Linked DNA regions of Homo sapiens: all the other regions are linked to region 4. The links are contacts of gene promoters, found by promoter capture Hi-C in blood cells and fetal thymus (Javierre and others, 2016). All regions are on one chromosome and are shown on one strand. Each heading gives the region's core, a stretch centred on a gene start or on the middle of the fragment in contact. The rest is flanking DNA. Distances are from core to core; before and after follow the strand shown.

The links. Contacts are between HindIII fragments. The CHiCAGO score rates a contact against its expected background, and 5 or more counts as called.
Region 1: a fragment that was not itself captured here is called in contact with the fragment with the promoter of HSD17B10 in region 4 in 3 of 17 cell types (M0 macrophages, megakaryocytes and M2 macrophages); the score reaches 6.2 in M0 macrophages.
Region 2: a contact is called between a fragment that was not itself captured here and the fragment with the promoter of HSD17B10 in region 4, in 3 of 17 cell types (monocytes, M0 macrophages and erythroblasts). The highest score is 5.8, in monocytes.
Region 3: a contact is called between a fragment that was not itself captured here and the fragment with the promoter of HSD17B10 in region 4, in 5 of 17 cell types (monocytes, M2 macrophages, M1 macrophages and 2 more). The highest score is 6.9, in monocytes.
Region 5: a contact is called between a fragment that was not itself captured here and the fragment with the promoter of HSD17B10 in region 4, in 10 of 17 cell types (megakaryocytes, M2 macrophages, total CD8 T cells and 7 more). The highest score is 7.3, in megakaryocytes.

Annotation. Positions count from the first base shown.
Region 1 is chrX:53,242,214-53,245,442 of GRCh38, forward strand. It overlaps IQSEC2 (IQ motif and Sec7 domain ArfGEF 2), which reads right to left. Exons shown (of 15, transcript NM_001111125.3): 9 at 1,119-1,258. Among named protein-coding and RNA genes, the nearest start is that of KDM5C, 19 kb to the left of the region's middle. The HindIII fragment of the contact is 9,178 bases long and covers 1-3,229 here.
Region 2 is chrX:53,199,595-53,203,128 of GRCh38, forward strand. It overlaps KDM5C (lysine demethylase 5C), which reads right to left. Exons shown (of 26, transcript NM_004187.5): 13 at 2,260-2,379; 14 at 1,956-2,150. Among named protein-coding and RNA genes, the nearest start is that of MIR6894, 2.4 kb to the left of the region's middle. The HindIII fragment of the contact is 1,400 bases long and covers 1,275-2,674 here.
Region 3 is chrX:53,263,905-53,267,385 of GRCh38, forward strand. All of the region lies in intron 2 of IQSEC2 (IQ motif and Sec7 domain ArfGEF 2), which reads right to left. Among named protein-coding and RNA genes, the nearest start is that of KDM5C, 40 kb to the left of the region's middle. The HindIII fragment of the contact is 7,501 bases long and covers 1-3,481 here.
Region 4 is chrX:53,432,771-53,436,124 of GRCh38, forward strand. HSD17B10 (hydroxysteroid 17-beta dehydrogenase 10) reads right to left here and starts at 1,600. Exons shown (of 6, transcript NM_004493.3): 1 at 1,549-1,600; 2 at 952-1,116. The coding sequence starts at 1,575. The HindIII fragment of the contact is 11,572 bases long and covers 1-2,895 here.
Region 5 is chrX:53,299,683-53,302,960 of GRCh38, forward strand. The region is part of intron 1 of IQSEC2 (IQ motif and Sec7 domain ArfGEF 2); the gene reads right to left. Among named protein-coding and RNA genes, the nearest start is that of IQSEC2, 20 kb to the right of the region's middle. The HindIII fragment of the contact is 5,804 bases long and covers 1-3,278 here.

The sequences.
Region 1 (3,229 bases), core at 570-3,069, 190 kb before region 4:
ACTTGAGGTCAGGAGTTCGAGATCAGCCTGGCCAACATGGTGAAACCCCGTCTCTACTAAAAACACAAAAATTAGCTGGGTGTGGTGGTGGGCGCCTGCAATCCCAGGTACTCAGGAGGCTGAGGCAGGAGAATCGTTTGAACCCAGGAGGTAGAGGTTGCAATGAGCCGAGATCATGCCACTCCACTCCAGCCTGAGTGACAGAGTGAAACTCCATGTCAAAAAAAAAAAAAAAAAAAAAAAAAAATTCAATCCCAAAATGATCTCTTCCAAGAAGCCTTCCCTGATTTCTCCAGGCTGAAAATGGTCTCTCTCTCCTTTCTCCTCTCCTAAACTGGACCATAAAGCAGAAGTATTATATGTGTCTTTGTTTCACACCCCGACTGGTCTGTGAGTGCCCCCAAGGATAGAGAACACGTCTGATTCATATCTATGAATGCCCAGCACCAACTCTGGTGCCCAGCAAATGCTGGGCTCAGTGGAAAGGCATCCACAAATGTTTGTTGGCTAAAGCGTTTTCTTTTTTTTTTTCTTTTTTTGAGACGGAGTCTTGCTCTGTGGCCCCAGGCTGGAGTGCGTTGGCACGATCTCAGCTCACTGCAACCTCCGCCTCCCGGGTTCAAGCAATTCTCCTGCCTCAGCCTCCTGAGTAGCTGGAACTCCAGGCATGCACCATCACGCCCGCAGCTAATTTTTGTATTTTTAGTAGAGACAGGGTTTTGCCATGATAGCCAGGCTGGTCTGGAACTCCTGACCTGAGGTGATCCACCCACCTCGGCCTCCCAAAGTGCTGGGATTACAGGCACAAGCCATTGTACCTGGCCTAAAGTGTGTTCTTACTTTGGTTTTCTGCTAACCATTAGCTTGGCTCTTCACTTAGGATGGACAGGCAAAGCCGGAGGTGAAAAGGATGCTAATATTTATATAGTACCCACTATGGGCCTTGGAATGTGCTCGATGCATTCACTCTGCACCACAGCCTTCTGAGGAATGCATTATCACCCACTCTGTATTGCAGGTAAAGGGCACCTGGGGCTCAGGGAGGTGCAGTGACTTACCACTTAGTGGCAGAGGCAGACCTGAACCCTGGCCCCTCTGCAGCCTCCCAAGGCACTTACTGGTTTCTTTCCAACAATCATGCGCTCCACAGCCTGCACCTGGGACACATGGTCATCGTTGGTCCGCAGTTCACGCCCCTGGATGCGCTGGTAGATGCCCACCAGGAGGTCTCGGGGGATGTCTTCACCATTGTCAACCCCTGGGGGAGGGAGTAACACAGGGATATGTCACATAATTATGGGCACTGGGTGGTAGGGGTGCTCCACCACCCCCACACCCAGGCACGGGCCACGATAGTCAGGACTGAGGGTCAATGGGTACCCTCGGCCCCTTAGCCAGGATTGGGGCAGGGAGGGTGTCCTTCAGTACAACAGCCAGTTGCTATCTTCCCCAGAGTGGGGAATTTTTTCTCAACAACTCAGAATACACTGTAATTAAAACAATCAGATACTATTGTTTGCCTTCCTAATTAGCAAAAATAATTTAAAATGAAATCCAGTGCTAGGAAGAGTGCAGGGAAGTGGGCATGTATGGTAACATAACTCTTTTGGAAGGTAATTTGGCAAGAACCTAAATGTTTGTACCCAGTGATTCTCTTCTAGGAATCTACCCTAAGGAACTACTCAGAAATATGTGCAAGAGGTATGTGCAAGAATGCTAGTGCAGGCGGGGCATGGTGGCTCACGCCTGTACTCCCAGCACTTTGGGAGGCCGAGGCAGGTGGATCACGAGGTCAGGAGATCAAGACCATCCTGGCCAACATGGTGAAACCTCATCTGTACTAAAAATACAAAAAATTAGCCAGGCATGGCACCATGTGCCTGTAGTCCCAGGTACTCGGGAGGCTGAGGCAGAATTGCTTGAACCCGGGAGGCAGAGGCTGTAGTGAGCCAAGATCGCGCCACTGCACTCCAGCCTGAGCAACAAGATTGAGACTCTGTCTCAAAAAAAAAAAAAAGAAAAAGAAAAAAAAGAATGCTAGGGCAGGCGTGGTATAATCCCAGCACTTTGGGAGGCTGAGGCAGGTGGATCGCTCGAGCCCAGGAATTCGAGAGCCAACCTGGGCAACATGGCAAAATCCCATCTCTACAAAAAATACAAAAATTAGCTGGGTGTGGTGGCACACACCTGTGGCCCCAGCTACTTGGGAGGCTGAAGTGGGATAATAGCTTGAGCCTGGGAGGAGGAGGTTGCAGTGAACCATGATTGCACCACTGCACTCCAGCCTAGGCAACAGAGCAAGACCCTGTCTCAAAAAAAAAAAAAAAAAACTCACTAAGTGTTACTTATGGGGACAATTTGAAACAACCTAAATTTTAACAATAGAGGATAGTATATCCATTTAATAAGATAATGCACAGCTATTAAAAACTTGACATTTACAAAAACATTTCAATAGCATGAGAAAATTACAGTAGCAAATTATGGGAAAAGAGTAAGATAAATTGCATGTGTGGTATGATCTGAACTATATAAAAAGTTACATATGCATGGGGGAAAAGATTAGAACGCACCAAAACATTAACTATGATTGCCTCTAGGGGGCACATTTTGGGTGATAAAAAGAAATTTTCTAATTTTCTGAATCTTCCAACATTTCTGAAATAAAGTATGTATTACCTTCATTTATTTGCTTATTTATTTAATAATTAGAGGGGGAAGTTACACATACACACACACACACCCACACACACACACACATATATTGAGAGAGAGAGGGAAAAAGAATGGATGAATGAATGATGGCAAAATTCTAGGAGACAGCTCCAAATGGCCTCTGATCTAACTCCCTCCTCCCATGTTCACCATCCTTCTCCACTTCTGATTGCTGAGTGAAACCCACTCACTCTTCTCTCTAAATCCTCTACTAGAGAAAATGTTTTCTGGGCAGGACGTGGAGGCTCACACCTGTAATCCCAGCACTTTGGGAGGCCGAGTTGAGGCAAGGAGTTTGAGACCAGCCTGGGCAACCTAGCAAGACCCTGTCTCTACAAAAAATTTAGAAATTAGTTGGGCATGGTGGCACGCGCCTATAGTCCCAGCTACTTAGGAGGCTGAGGTGGGAGGATCGCTTGAGCCCAGGAGTTCAAGGCTGCAGTGAGCTCTGCTAGCACCACTGCAATCCAGCCTGGGTGAGAGAGTGAGACCCTGTCTCTAAAAATAAAAAAAA
Region 2 (3,534 bases), core at 725-3,224, 230 kb before region 4:
TTAGTAGGCAGGAGATACTTGTGCACATATATAACTTAGAGAAATTCAACCGTATGTGCTTGTGTTCAGGGTTTAAAGAGATATAATAATTTTCTCCCAACAATATGGTTTCCAAACCTAATCCAATGACTTCATCTGTTGCTCAGATAAAGAAAAAGCAATCCATTTCAAAAATGAAGGAAAAGCTGGCTATATTGGAGTAATCGAGAGACAACCCAGTGTGTATATCTAATGGGCAATTTTAGGGATTTTAATGGGAAATGTCAACTCTTAACAGTTTTTGTCTTACATACCAACTTTAACACCTAATCTCTGCATAAGTTATGAGCCCAAATCCCACTCTGCCACTTATATGCTGTGTGATCATGAGTAAATCATTTAACGTCTCTGGGTCTGTTTCATTATCTAGTAAGATGGAGATAAACAGTATCATCCTTGTTGGGTTGTTATGAGGATTAACAAAAATAAAGCAGCTATGGAATCAGACAAGTATCTCAGCACTTAGATTCAGTGTTCATCAAATATTTACTGTTATTAGCTCTAATTTTCAGATAAGAATATATATTCCACAGGCCTATCTCATTTTACTAAGGCAGAAACTAAGTCTCAGGGTCAGTAACTTGCCAAACTGAGTTAATTTTGACTCTAAAGCCAGAGAATATTCTAAGGATGAAGTCTCTAGGGTTTTTTTGGACTACAGACTCCTGAGAATTGGATGTAAACTATAAGTCCTCTTCCCAGAAACATACTTAAATACACATACAATCTCTTACAGGATTCCAAGACTATGGTGTCCAGAATGCTTCTCTGAGGTAAGGGCCAAGTGTGAAGAATTCTGAATGTCAAGATGAGAAGGTCTATTCTCCCCACCTTGCTTTGGCTCCTTCCCACAGCTTGGCACAGCCACACGGCCATCATTTAATAACAGTACTGAACAGAGTGAGAAAATGATGCCTGGAAAAGCCCAGGGACTCAACAACTTACACCACGACTGAGAGGCCCCAGACTTCCAACACTACTGTAGCTATAGTTCTCCCTATAGCCCACACTCACAGGAAAGCTATAAATGAGCTTTAAAATAAGAAAGTATTACCCTAGATAGGCAGCAAGGGATCCCACAGAACCAGCACTCCTTTGTAATCTTATGAAAGACTCTCACAAAGTCAATTCCCTAACTGGGCAAGTGTGAAATTTGAAGATGATGGCTGAAACTACACGAGTGGACTTTAGAGCTCTGTAGCAGCTTCCACTCAGCTACACACACAACTGACACAAGCTTACAAGAAATCAATTAAAGCAGGACCACCTTCAGCTTGGTAATATTATTGCCCTAGCTGGAGTTAATAAACCATCTGCATGTAATAAAATGGCAATTCCTGAGAAACATTCCAAATTTCAATCAGTTTCTTCATGTATTAACATTACCAATAATAGCAGCTGCAACATTGCAAAGGCAATGTTAGAGAGATGGCTTTCATATAAATCACCTTACTCTAACCTTACATCTTGCAAGTTAGGTATTTATTCCCACTTTAGAGTAGGAAAGTGAGATATGAAAGATCAAGTAACTTGATACAGTCACCTAGATAATCAGCAGTGAGGTTTCATATGCCAGTCTATTTTGCTAGGTCATGTAAATAATGATAAATAGCTGCTATACCAGTACCTGCCATGGGTCAGTCACTAAGCAAACATTATCTTTAATACAATCAACTATCCAAAAAGATAAGCATTATCATAATCCCATTTTTCAGAGGGGAAAACTGACAATGAAGTAAATCGACTTAAGGTTGCTGGTAAAGGGTATAGCAGAGAATGGTATGTGGTTTTCAATCGAGATGCATCTAGTTCTTTTCACTATACGCCAAGAGTAGAGGCTACATCTTCTTGGTGCTGCCTCTGCCTCCCCGAACTTCCACCAGAATAGGGTGCTTGATCTGGGGTACTCTCCCCACCTTCTCCAGCAGGGCCTTTCGTAGACGCCGCTCTTCTTGCACCATGATGAACATCTCCTTATGCACAGCTGCCGCCAGGTTCAGGTCTAGCTTCTCTGGGCAGGCAGCCATCTTGCAGATAAGCTCCTCATGGGAGAAGACGCAGTATCTCCGGAGCCGGCGGTAGTGCTCAATGCACTGGCGCCCAGCAGGCAACTGTGGGCAGGTTCAAGGTTGAGTGTGGCCAAGTCTGGAGGCCATGATGCCCCAGCTTCTCTACAACCCTCCTGCTTCTCCCCACCATCCCACCACATTCTAGACTCACCCAGTCAGCAGTGCAAAAGTTGACAGCCTCGGCAAAGTTGTAGCCTTGGTTGAAGCCGCTGTGGTAAGCACGGGGGAAGGTGATGACAAACTCTCCTGCACACTGGTTTGTGCGGACAACCTGAAGAACACAAAAGGCCATGGCTGTTGAGATAGAGATTTTCCTGTATACAGACCTGACTTAAGTGCAAGGTAATTAAGGAGACAAAGAAAAGCCTCAGGGAACACAGTCTGACAACAGAATCCCAGACTCTCCAACTCTGAAAGGAAGGACCACTGGTCTCTGCTCTCAAGGTTTTGATGTGTGTTGAGATGATAGGAAGATTTGAGATTAAAAAATATATCTGTCAAAATATTCCAACTTCCTTAGTAATTTTTGCAAAAATTATAAATATCACTTTTAATCAAGCTGGACAAGCTTTTTTAGTTATTTACTTTCATCAGTTATATATGCAGTTTGTAGAGTCAAATGGCTCTATAAAGATCTGTTATAAAATCAGCCAGCCTTGCCATTCTCCCTTCCCCACAGCCAATCACTTCCACCTCTTCTGATTATTTTGGCGTTGATTATAACTACCTTAAATAACATGCTTCTAGACTATGTTAAAAACAGCCTCCTGTTTCTCAATTTGCTCAGTTTTTTATGCATATATCCCTAATTTTCTGACCAATATTTAAATCTCTTTTCCTATCAATTTTCATCTTTCTGTAGCAGTCTCATGCAACCTTCTGATCTGTCCCAATCTGGACCAGCTGTCCTCCCTGGATCATCACTCTCTTGTGACAGATCTCCTATTTCCTAGATCCCACGTCTTCCTCTTTCTTGGTTTATTCCTTTGCTATGCTTAAGAACATCCTCCAACAGTTTCCTGAGAAATGGTGTGAAGAACCTACTTTTCTTTTTTTAAAGAAAGTCTCTATTCTTACTCTCACACTTGACTGTATATAGAATTCTAAGATGAAAATCCTTTTTTTTTTTTTTTGAGACGGAGTCTCGCTCTGCCGCCCAGGCTGGAGTGCAGTGGCACGATCTCGGCTCACTGCAAGGTCCGCCTCCCGGGTTCACGCCATTCTCCTGCCTCAGCCTCTCCGAATAGCTGGGACTACAGACGCCTGCCACCACGCCCGGCTAATTTTTTGTATTTTTAGTAGAGATGGGGTTTCACCGTGGTCTCGATCTCCTGACCTCGTGATCCGCCCGCCTCGGCCTCCCAAAGTGCTGGGATTACAAGTGTGAGCCACCGCGCCCGGCAAAAATCCTTTTTTTAAAAACTCC
Region 3 (3,481 bases), core at 714-3,213, 170 kb before region 4:
GCGGACCTATGGCACTCATGCCAGTACTAAGCACACAGCAGTTACTCAGCAGCCACCCTGGGTCCTCGAAGACCACAGGTAGAAATCACGTGTGTCTGTGTGTGTGTGACCATCCTGCCTGACAACTGTCACCCTAAAGGCCACAGCCTCACGTGCTTAAAAGCCACCCACACCCAGCCTTGTGATTACATCCACCAGACACAGACATCAAGGCTGCCAGGTACATAAAGTCACCACTTCACACAATCAACCTCACACTCAGAATTCCTCACACCCAGTCTCACATCATCACATTTCCTCAGCTCTGCAGCAGTGTGCACAGTCTCACAACTGTGAGACCTGCAGAGCCTTGTGCAAAGACATGTGTGAGGATGGCCGGCCACATGGAGGCCATGCGTGCACACATATTTCTCTCACGGCTGATCAAAACCCCACCCCCTTCCCACAGCACAAGCCCTCTGCCCGATTCAGCCAATTCAGTTGCCCACGGGTCGGGAGGGTCATCTGACCCTGACTTGCCCCCTCCCCCCATGTAGTTGAACCCCCGTCCCCACCCCCACACTTGCTTCTCTCTCCATTCAGCGGAAGGGTAGAATGGTCTCCTCGTCCCCAGCCCCAGGTCACCTACATTCACACACCCTGGAGAGCAGAATAAACAGAGTAATGTACCCACCATTCCCCTGCATGACCCTGGAGCGCTCCCCCAGGTTTTTGTCTATGCGGTCCCTGTCTCCTATAATGCCTTCTCACCCCTTGCCACCTTTTCAAACCCTTACCAGCCTTCAAGGCTCAACTCTTGCACCTCTTCCTCCAGCAAGCCCTCCTGGACACCACACCTCCCCACCCACCTTGACATCTCCTTCCTCTCTGGGCCAGGAACAAAATGTGCTCATTACTGAAGCCGTTCCTGTCCAATCATGTTAACCCTTTGCATCCTTCCTACTTTCCCAAAGGATTTCTCATCTCTCATCTCCCCTGGGAGATGGAGAGCTCGCAGAGGACACAGCCACTGTCATGCTTAAAAAAAAAAAAAAATCTTTTTGTAGAGATGAGATCTCACTATGTTGCCCAGGCTGATCTGAAACTCCTGGCCTCAAGCCATCTGCCTGTCTCAGCCTCCCAAAGGGCTAGGATTACAGGTGTGAGCCACCACACCTGGCCTCTGTCTTACTTTGGATCTCTCACAGTATTTAGCGTCAGGTCTTATACCCAGTAAGGGCTCAAACAATGCTTTGTTGAGTAGAATGAGGAAGAGTAAATAAGGGAGACAGGCAGGGAGGGAGGGGAGAAATAAATGAGACTTTGAATGGGTGAATGAGTAGATGAGTTGAGCGAGTGAGGCAATAAGTGAGGGAAGGAGGTGAGGTTCTAGGAAACCTAGAGGTTCAATGTGATAGAGATGCTGAAGGGAGGGAGGAAAGAAAAGACAGGAGAAAACTCTCACCTGGGCCTTAATCAAAACAAGAGCCACCAATCACAGCACACTTGCCCAACAGTGCACAAGCTCCTATGCTGGGCTCGTTGTGTTCTTTCTTGCTAATCTTCATGACAACCCAGAGAGGTAGGTATATTCTCACTGTACTCAGGAGGAAAACAAAGCTCAAGGAGAAGAAAAAACTTGCTCAAGGTTATACAGATGTAAGTGGCAGAACCAGAAGGTAAACTCAGATTTGTCTAATACCAAAGGCTCAGACAGGAAAAGTCGGGGGTATGAGCCCACTTCAGACACATCATGGAAGGTGTGAGTCCTACAAACCCGTAAAGGACATCTTCCACCCTCCAGCTGAGAGCCTCCAGGGAGTCTTAGAACCAGCCTCTGCCCAGGTGCAGGGAATATTTAGGGTCGTTGCATTGGAGGGAAATGGCTTCCTCTCAGATTCAGAGATCCCTAAAGTTGTAGAATCAGAACCTTAAAAGTAAACGATCAAGGAATCTAAACATTGCAGAATATTAAAATTGCATCATCAGAATTTGTTCAAATGGTAGAATTATGCAATCTTAAAACCACAGGACTGGAAAATCCCAAAATCACTGCATTGTAGAAATAGAAATCATAAAATTGCAGTGGAATGTGTCACTGAATCATTGTCTATTAAATTCACATAATCATAGCTTCTTAAAACTGTAGCATCTCAGATTCACAAAATGTCACAGCTGGAAGAGTCATTGGAGACCCTCTAATCCAACCCTTCTCCTTTTTATAGATGTCAAAGAGGTCATGCGACACATCCAAGGTTAGCCTGCCCGTGTTGGGAGTCATTCATGCATTTATTGAGTGCCTCCTGGGTGTTGACAAAACCACGAATCAAACCCTACTCTCTTTCCCGGCCCCTATTCCCAGCCCTGGATAGGAAAGAAGGCAAGGCCCTGGTGGGGATTGGAAGAGGGAAGTGGGGGTGGGTGGAATATACATCAGACAGAGAGAAGAGATCAGCTTTTATTGATGGAAATTCCTTTGTACACAGCAACACGCACTCTGAGAGGCCTTTTCCTCCTGATAATATTTACAGAGCACTATGGGAGTGGCAGAGGGCATGGGGTGAGGCCTTCAAGCAGTGGAGGAGATGGCAGCAATGGCCACAGCAAGGGAACAAACGACAGGGAACTAGGCAGGCTGGGTCCTGCCCCCGTCTGGTCCTCTGAGCCCTAGGCACCCTGCATCTCTGTTTGTGCTCACAGAGGACAGAGGTAGGTCCTTGGGATGTCATTTGGAGACCTCTCCAGTAGTGGCAGGCTCCAGGGTGCCTGGGAAGTGGGAGTGCGGGTACGGGAGGATCCAGGTTCCAAGCTCCAAGCTCCAAGCTCTGCTTCTCCCACATTTTAGTCGGACCTAGGGCTCCAGCTCTCTTTAATTCAGGGGCTGGAGTCCAGAGGAGACAGCAGTGGGGATGGGAATTCCAAGAAGAAGGTGGGGGGAGGAAGGGGCACGATGCTTGCCCATCTGGTTCCTGAAGCAGGGGACAGGGTCCCATGGGGGAATCTGCGGGGGGGTGGGTGGGGGGAAGGAGGGGCTGGTTAAGGCTTTTGCTTCTGCATAGAAAATGGCCCTTGTCCTCTCAGTTACCGAGAGGAGGGACTACTGCACTCGGAGGCCGGACAGCAGAACTGGTGAGCGTCTTCCTCTTCCTCTTCCTCAGTCTCCTCCTCCTCCTCCTCTTCCCTGGGGCCAGGAAGGGCGGGGTAGAGGCCACAGGCGGTGGGTGACAGAGAGAGGCAGAGGCATTAGTTTGCAGAGCAGGGGAGATACGCGAAGGGCCAGGACCGGAACCAGAAGGTGGGACGAGAATGGGGGTCAGGGTGGGGAGGCCAGTGTGATGGATTATCCAGGGTCACACCCAACTCAGTGTGCTGGGACAGCCCTCCCCCACACCCAGCCTGGGCTCAGTCTTAAGGTCACCCTCAGCGTATATCAACTCCCTTTCTAACCCTGCCAGGTGCCTGACCCTCATTTTAATATAATAACAGCAACCTGCTCTCATTT
Region 4 (3,354 bases), core at 350-2,849:
CCGGGAGGCAGAGGTTGCAGTGAGCTGAGATCGTGCCATTGCACTGCAGCCTGGGCAACAGTGAGACTCTGTCCCAAAAAAAAAAATTGAGAGAGTAGGTCAAAGGTGAAAATATTAGGTAATATAGAGCAGTGTTGCAAAAACATTTTTCAAATCAATACCTTCTTGATAAATTCACATGCTCCTGAAGATTCTTAATTGCTGTGGATCAGAGCACTAATGCAACCCTGTTGTGAGGCTGGGTGCAGTGGCTCACACCTGTAATCCCAGCACTTTGGGAGGCCGAGGCGGGCGGATCACGTGAGATCAGGAGTTCAAGACCAGCCCGGCCAACATGGTGAAACCCCATCTCTTCTAAAAATACAAAAAAAAAAATTAGCTGGGCGTGGTGGCAGGTGCCTGTAATCCCAGCTACTTGGGAGGTTGAGGCAGGAAAATCGCTTGAACCCAGAAGATGGAGGTTGCAAGGAGCTGAGATTGTGCCACTGCACTCCAGCCTGGGCAACAGAGCGAGACTCCATCTCAAAAATAAAAATAAAAAATAACCCTCTTGTGAGAATTATTGATAGGAAGATAAACTAGCTTTTTTGTATCCTTACCTGCTAAGATGATTTCATCAAGTTTCACTTTCTGTAGTTTGTTTCATGAAAACAAGTTTTTTGACTTTGTAAATATAAAATTACAAGGCACAAAATGCATTTTCAAACCATACATAACTCCTCCAGGAGATTGTTACGTCCAATCCCCATCCTCATTGTTGTGAATCCCAGCTTTAGAGAATCCTTATCACAGGTGGTCCCACAGTGCTTGAAGGCTCAGGCCAAAAGAGACAAGGAGATGGGTCTACCGCCCCCATAGAGGAGACCCTTATGGGAGGGACCCCCACAGGTTCCCAGGCCGGTGTTGGTGACCTCATGCACACCCTGGGAGAGGAGAGGTGACCCCACTTACGTCGGCTGGGGCGAAAACGCAGTTGTTTCCTAACTTCTTGGCTTGGGCCTCCCCACCCGAGTTGGGCAGGTCCAGAAGCACAGCAGAGGCTCCCTGCCCCACAAGTCGCTCCGCCGTGGCCAGGCCCAGGCCCGAGGCTCCTCCGGTTATTACCGCCACCAGGCCCTGTCAAAAGGGACATGGTCAGGGTCAGCTGTTACATTGCCCAGACCATCCCCACGCTGTCGCCTGCCTGTTCTCCAGGCTTCTGAGGAGAAGGGGGGAGGGGAGAGGTCGTGGTCACCCCTGCGGGTAAACTAGGTGTGCTGCTTCTCCTCAGCGTTGGGACCTCGGGGGCAGAAGGGATCTCATCCCCAGACAGCCCGTCCCGTGACGATAGATAGATAGATGATTGATAGATAGATAGATAGACAGACAGACAGACAGACAGATGCGCCGCGGAGTGCTGACTTTCACCTCTTGAGCCCAACGGCCACAATACCAGGCCTACATAAGCATGACCCTTTCCCTCGAAACCGATCTCTTTCTCCTAGTTCCACGGCCGCGCTGTCCCGGCCCGTAAAGGAAGGCAAGCAACAGAGGCAAAGAACCTTCTACCTTCACGCTCCGACACGCTGCTGCCATCTTGTCGCCGGCCACTCCACGGGATGGGGATGGGGGCGCGGGCGCTCGTTGATTGGCCGAGGCGAAGCGGCGGAAGGGGCGGATGCGACGGGCCGGGGCGTCTGCCGCTGCCGCATGAGACGTGGGGGCGTGGCCTGGTACGCTAGTCCTTTGGCCAGAGGGCGGATTCCGCCTGCTAAGGTATCCCCAGAGTTATTTCAACTGGGGAAAGAGACCAATAGCAGAAGTACAATACCACAACACCCCTCGCCCTACTCTCTAGCTGGCCTTTTGGCAAGTGGCCTGCTCCGCGTGGGGGAAGAGGGGTGGATATTGAGAACGGATGCCTTTCTCCTCTGAAAAAGTCTTAATTCAAGTATGAATGTATTTGAGACTCCTATATGCTAGACGGTGTGCGGGGCACCTGGGATACCCAGCGGAATAATAAAAGATTCATGCCTTCCAGGAGGGCACAGTCCAGGTGGAGAAAGAGAATTACAGTACAGACACAGACGAATGGACGGAACCAGATTCTGGGACACTCAGACAAGGAGATCCAAAGATGAGGAGTCTGAGTTAGAGAGAGAGAGAGCCATGTAAAGAGAAATATGTTGAGGCCGAGATAGGAAGAGAGATGCCAGGTAGGATCACAGAGAGATGAATGTGGAAAGCCGCTAAGAGAGATGCTTGGAGACAGACATTCTAGGACAGCTGCTGAGAAGCACAAACCTAAAGAGGCAAAAACATCTTTCATCAGTTCAGGCTTTGCTACTCTCCTCTATCTTTGTCTAATTTAAGTCCAAAAGCCCAGATCACACACTGCAGATTGGACTTCAACCAGAGACTATTATTTAAGACCCAGGTCTTTGTCATCCTAGAACATCTTTCAGGCAGCTTCCAGAAGCTATGTCATTAGAGTCTTGAGCCCAGATATCTAATCTGTCTTCCTTCTATACTTTTCCTCAAACCAAGGTCTTCAGGCCATAAATCTTAGCCCACCATTTCAGCCTCAGAACTGCTTTATGTTTTCTCTATCTGAAATATCTCCCCCCACTTGCTTTCTCACCCAGGAAGATTCCCCTCCAGGCCTTCTAGTTGTTGACAGCCACCACACTCATAATCACTACACCGTATTTACCAAAGGATTTAGCACACCGGTCTCACAATTTTCCTATCTACATGAAGTGCTTCCATCAATTTATAGCACTCTTCATCCGGCCCAATATGCTGTAGCCACAGTGGCCTCCTTTGTGTTCATCTTTGCATTAGCTGCTCCCTCTGCTTGGAATGCTCTCCCCTGATCTTTGCATGACTGCTTTTATTTTTTTTCATTCAGAACTAAGCTTAAATATCACCTTCCCAGAGGGGTCCTCCCTAAATATTCAAACTGTAGCCACCTAGACACTATCCCATTGCATATTTGAATTATCTTCATAGCACTTGCATGTCCGTAATCCATTTTCCAACCTTAGGGCCAGATGTGCTGTGGAATTCAGAGTTTTTTTCAATTTGAGAAAGGAAGACATGTAATTTATATTACATAACTCTTTAAAAAAACTAGTCAAACATAACTTTTTGTATAGTCTATATTATATAACTATTGAGAAAAGCCTGGAGCATCGTAATGAAATATTAATATTTCTGAAGTGAAAGGTATGAAAATTCACACCAAGTGTGAATAAAGACTATAAATAGCCTCACACTACTTCAGGTCAGGTTTTGTCATCTATTGAGTTTGGGCTCCAAAGTATGAAAAAACAACCTTATGCTTTTCAGAAGTTTTGGCATTGCAGGATTGTG
Region 5 (3,278 bases), core at 483-2,982, 130 kb before region 4:
CATCTGCAGGGATGCAGCTGGGAGTGGGGGACTCACTGTCTGGATGGGGTTGGGGAAGGACCAAAAAGACAAGACTTTTTTTTTTTAAGACAAGGTCTCTCTCTGCTGCCCAGACTAGGAGGCAGTGGTGTGAGCATCGCTCACAGCCTTGACCTCCTGGGCTCATCAAGCGATCCTCCCACCTCAGCCTCCTGAGTAGCTAGAACCACAGGTACATGCCACCACACCTAGCCAATCTTTTGTTTGTTTGTTTGTTTGTTTGAGACAGGGTTTTACTATGTTGCCCAGGCTGGTCTCAAACTCCTGAGCTCAAGCAATCCTCCCACCTCAGCCTCCCAAAGTTGGGGGGGGAATTACAGTCATGAACCACTGTGCCCGGACAGAAAAGACTTTCAACATTCCCATTCTCAGGTCCATACTTCATCCTGCCTTCTGAGGATGTACCTTCAGTACCTCTCAATCCTGAGCACTGCTGGGATTCTCTAAGTAGAATAGTTTACTTCTGGTCAGCATCCCAGACCTTATGTGTTTCTACCTTTTTTACTCCTTTTTTCATATTTTAATGAGATTTGGGAAAGCAACAGAGAGAAATAAGTTTATCCAACTCATTGTGTTTAACAGGAAGCTCCCTTTCTTATTCCAGCCAACTCCTATTCATCCTCCATGACCCATTTAGGCACCACCTCCTCCAGGAAGCGTATCTTAACATCCCTAGGCTGGGTTAGGAGCCCCTCCTCTGTTCTCCCACAGTATCCTTTTCTTGACTCCATCACAGCCCTGATCAAACTGTTCTGAAATTGTCTATTTCCATGGCTGACTCTCCCAGCGACTGGGAGCTCCTGGTAGTCAGGCGCTCTGTCTCATTCCTGCTTGGACCCCCAGATCTCAGAGTCTGGCTTCCAGGCGTATGGAGTAAATATGTGGTGACGAAATTAATGAATAAATGAATGACTAAATAAACGAATTGGACCCAGCTAGAGGGACCATCTAGAAAGGGAAATAAGCTGAATACAATTGTCCCTATATAAGGTCAATTCCCTAAAAGCTGTAAGTTCCTTTGATGCTGTGTGTGCAAGGAAGCCTATCGCAGCATGATTTAAACCAGTGAAAAAAATGAGCACAGCTTCTACACCCTACATTAAGAGGATGGTTAAGTCCATCGTGGTATATCAGTTGCCACTAAAAATGATGGTTATGAAGAATATGCAATGACATGGGAAATGCTCAAATGGAAAAATCAAGAACAAAAATTGTATGTGTAAAATCATTTCAACTACATGAAAAAAATGCAGAGAACAAGGGCAAATACACCAGATGCTCAGAGTGGCTGCCTCTGGGTGCTGTAATTATGTGTAATGTTTTTCTCCTCTACTTTTCCTAGTTTTTCTAAATTTCCTAATTTAAAAATGCATTGAAAGTATAATTTTTTAAACGCTACTAAGAAATTAAATTGGTTAAGTAGCCTGAGAGTACTGGGAACAAAATACTGTGAGGCGGGGGGCATAAGAATCAGTGCACATGTCCACCAGGGCTTGCTGGGAAAGCTCTATTCTTCACCGGCCACAGCCTCTGAAGGCCCAGGCCCACAGAACACCCCCTGCTCCCTTCCCTGCAAAGCAGGACCTAGCTCAGGAAGCCAAAGGAGGAGGATCTTGGAGGCCAGCCTATTACGAATCACAATCTTATGGGTTGTACTGATAAACAGAAGGCCCTACACTGGGGCCCACATTTTAGGGGCCACTCTCCATCAGGCAAAAGGTCTGTAATGCCATCAGGACCCATAAGGATCTTTGGCCCTGTCCCTTCTAGGCTGCACTTCAAGCACCAAGGACCTCAGAATTTCCTGCCTAAATTTCTTGGGCTTACTTTCAGGAATTGCATGGTCTTATTACCCAGGTCCATCTGTTAGGACCAAGGAGCGGCCTAAGGGGAAGGGGAGATAGACAGGGCTTGGAGGTGTTGGCTGGGGTATCCACATATCTCAAGGCTCCATATGAACTATGGGAGGGAAGAGAAGTGTGGAGGGCCAAGGGCTTCAACTGGTAACTTGCTTGGGCCCTAGAAATGTAGAGGCAGGCAAGTCTATAGAGCCTTAGGCCTCAGGGTTTGTAGAAGGCCCTAGCCTTCACAGATCTGGGTTCAAATCCATTCATTTGCTGTGCAACCCATGGATGAATCCATTCTCCTCTCTGAACTTAGTTTCCCCAACTATAAAATAGGCATAATAATTCTGACTTCAGAGAATTGTGTTGAGGTTTGTAGAATGACAGTAGTTATGAGTCCAGGCTTTAGGTCAGACAGGCCTGGATTTGGGTCTCAGCTCTGCCTCTTCCAGCTATGCGATTTATGACCCTAAGTTTCAGTTTCTTCATCAATGTAATGGAGATAATAATAGCACTAATATGATACGGTTGTTGGGAGGATTATGGTTATAAAGAATATGTGATAACATTGGAAAATGCTTAAATGAGAAAATGCTGCTTAATAATGGTTGTGCAAACACTGGCTGTGGTGGAGCTGACTGGGCCTTCTGCAATCCCCAGGCTCATGCAGCTTTATTTTCCCCATAGCACTTACCACTACTTGACATATTATGTGTCTTCTTGTTTATTTGTTTCTTTTCCACACCCATCCCAGACATCCATACACTAGAATCTCAGCTCCACAGGGCAGAGGTTTTGTCTATTTTGCTCACTGTTTCCAAGTGCCTTGAACAGTGTGAGGTACTTAGATGTTCTTCAAATTTGAATAGTTAGCCAGGCGTGGTGGCACCAGAGAGAAATAAGTTTCTAGGCCTCCCTCAGCTACTAGGGAGGCTGAGGCAGGAGGATCACTTGAGCCCAGGAATTTGAGGCTTCAGCGAGCTATGATCATGCCACTGCACTCTAGCCTGGGCAACAGAGCACAACCCTATGTCAAAAAAAAAAGTTAACTGGTTATCTGCCATGTAGACAAGGGTAAAAAGGCATTTGGGGCCAGGCACGGCGGCTCATGCCTATAATCCCAGCACTTTAGGAAGCCAAGGCGGGAGGACCGCTTGAGCCCAGGAGTTTGAGACCAGCCTGGGGATCACAGGGAGATCCCGTCTCTACAATGAAATAAAAATTAGCCAGGCATTTTAGTGTGTGCCTATAGTCCCAGCTACTCGGGAGGTTAAAGTGAGAGGATTGCTTGAGCCCAGGTCGAGACCAGCCTGGGCAACATAGCAAAACTCTGTCTCTACAAAAATACAAAAATTAGGTGGGCATGATGGTGTGTGCCTATAGTCCCAGCTACTC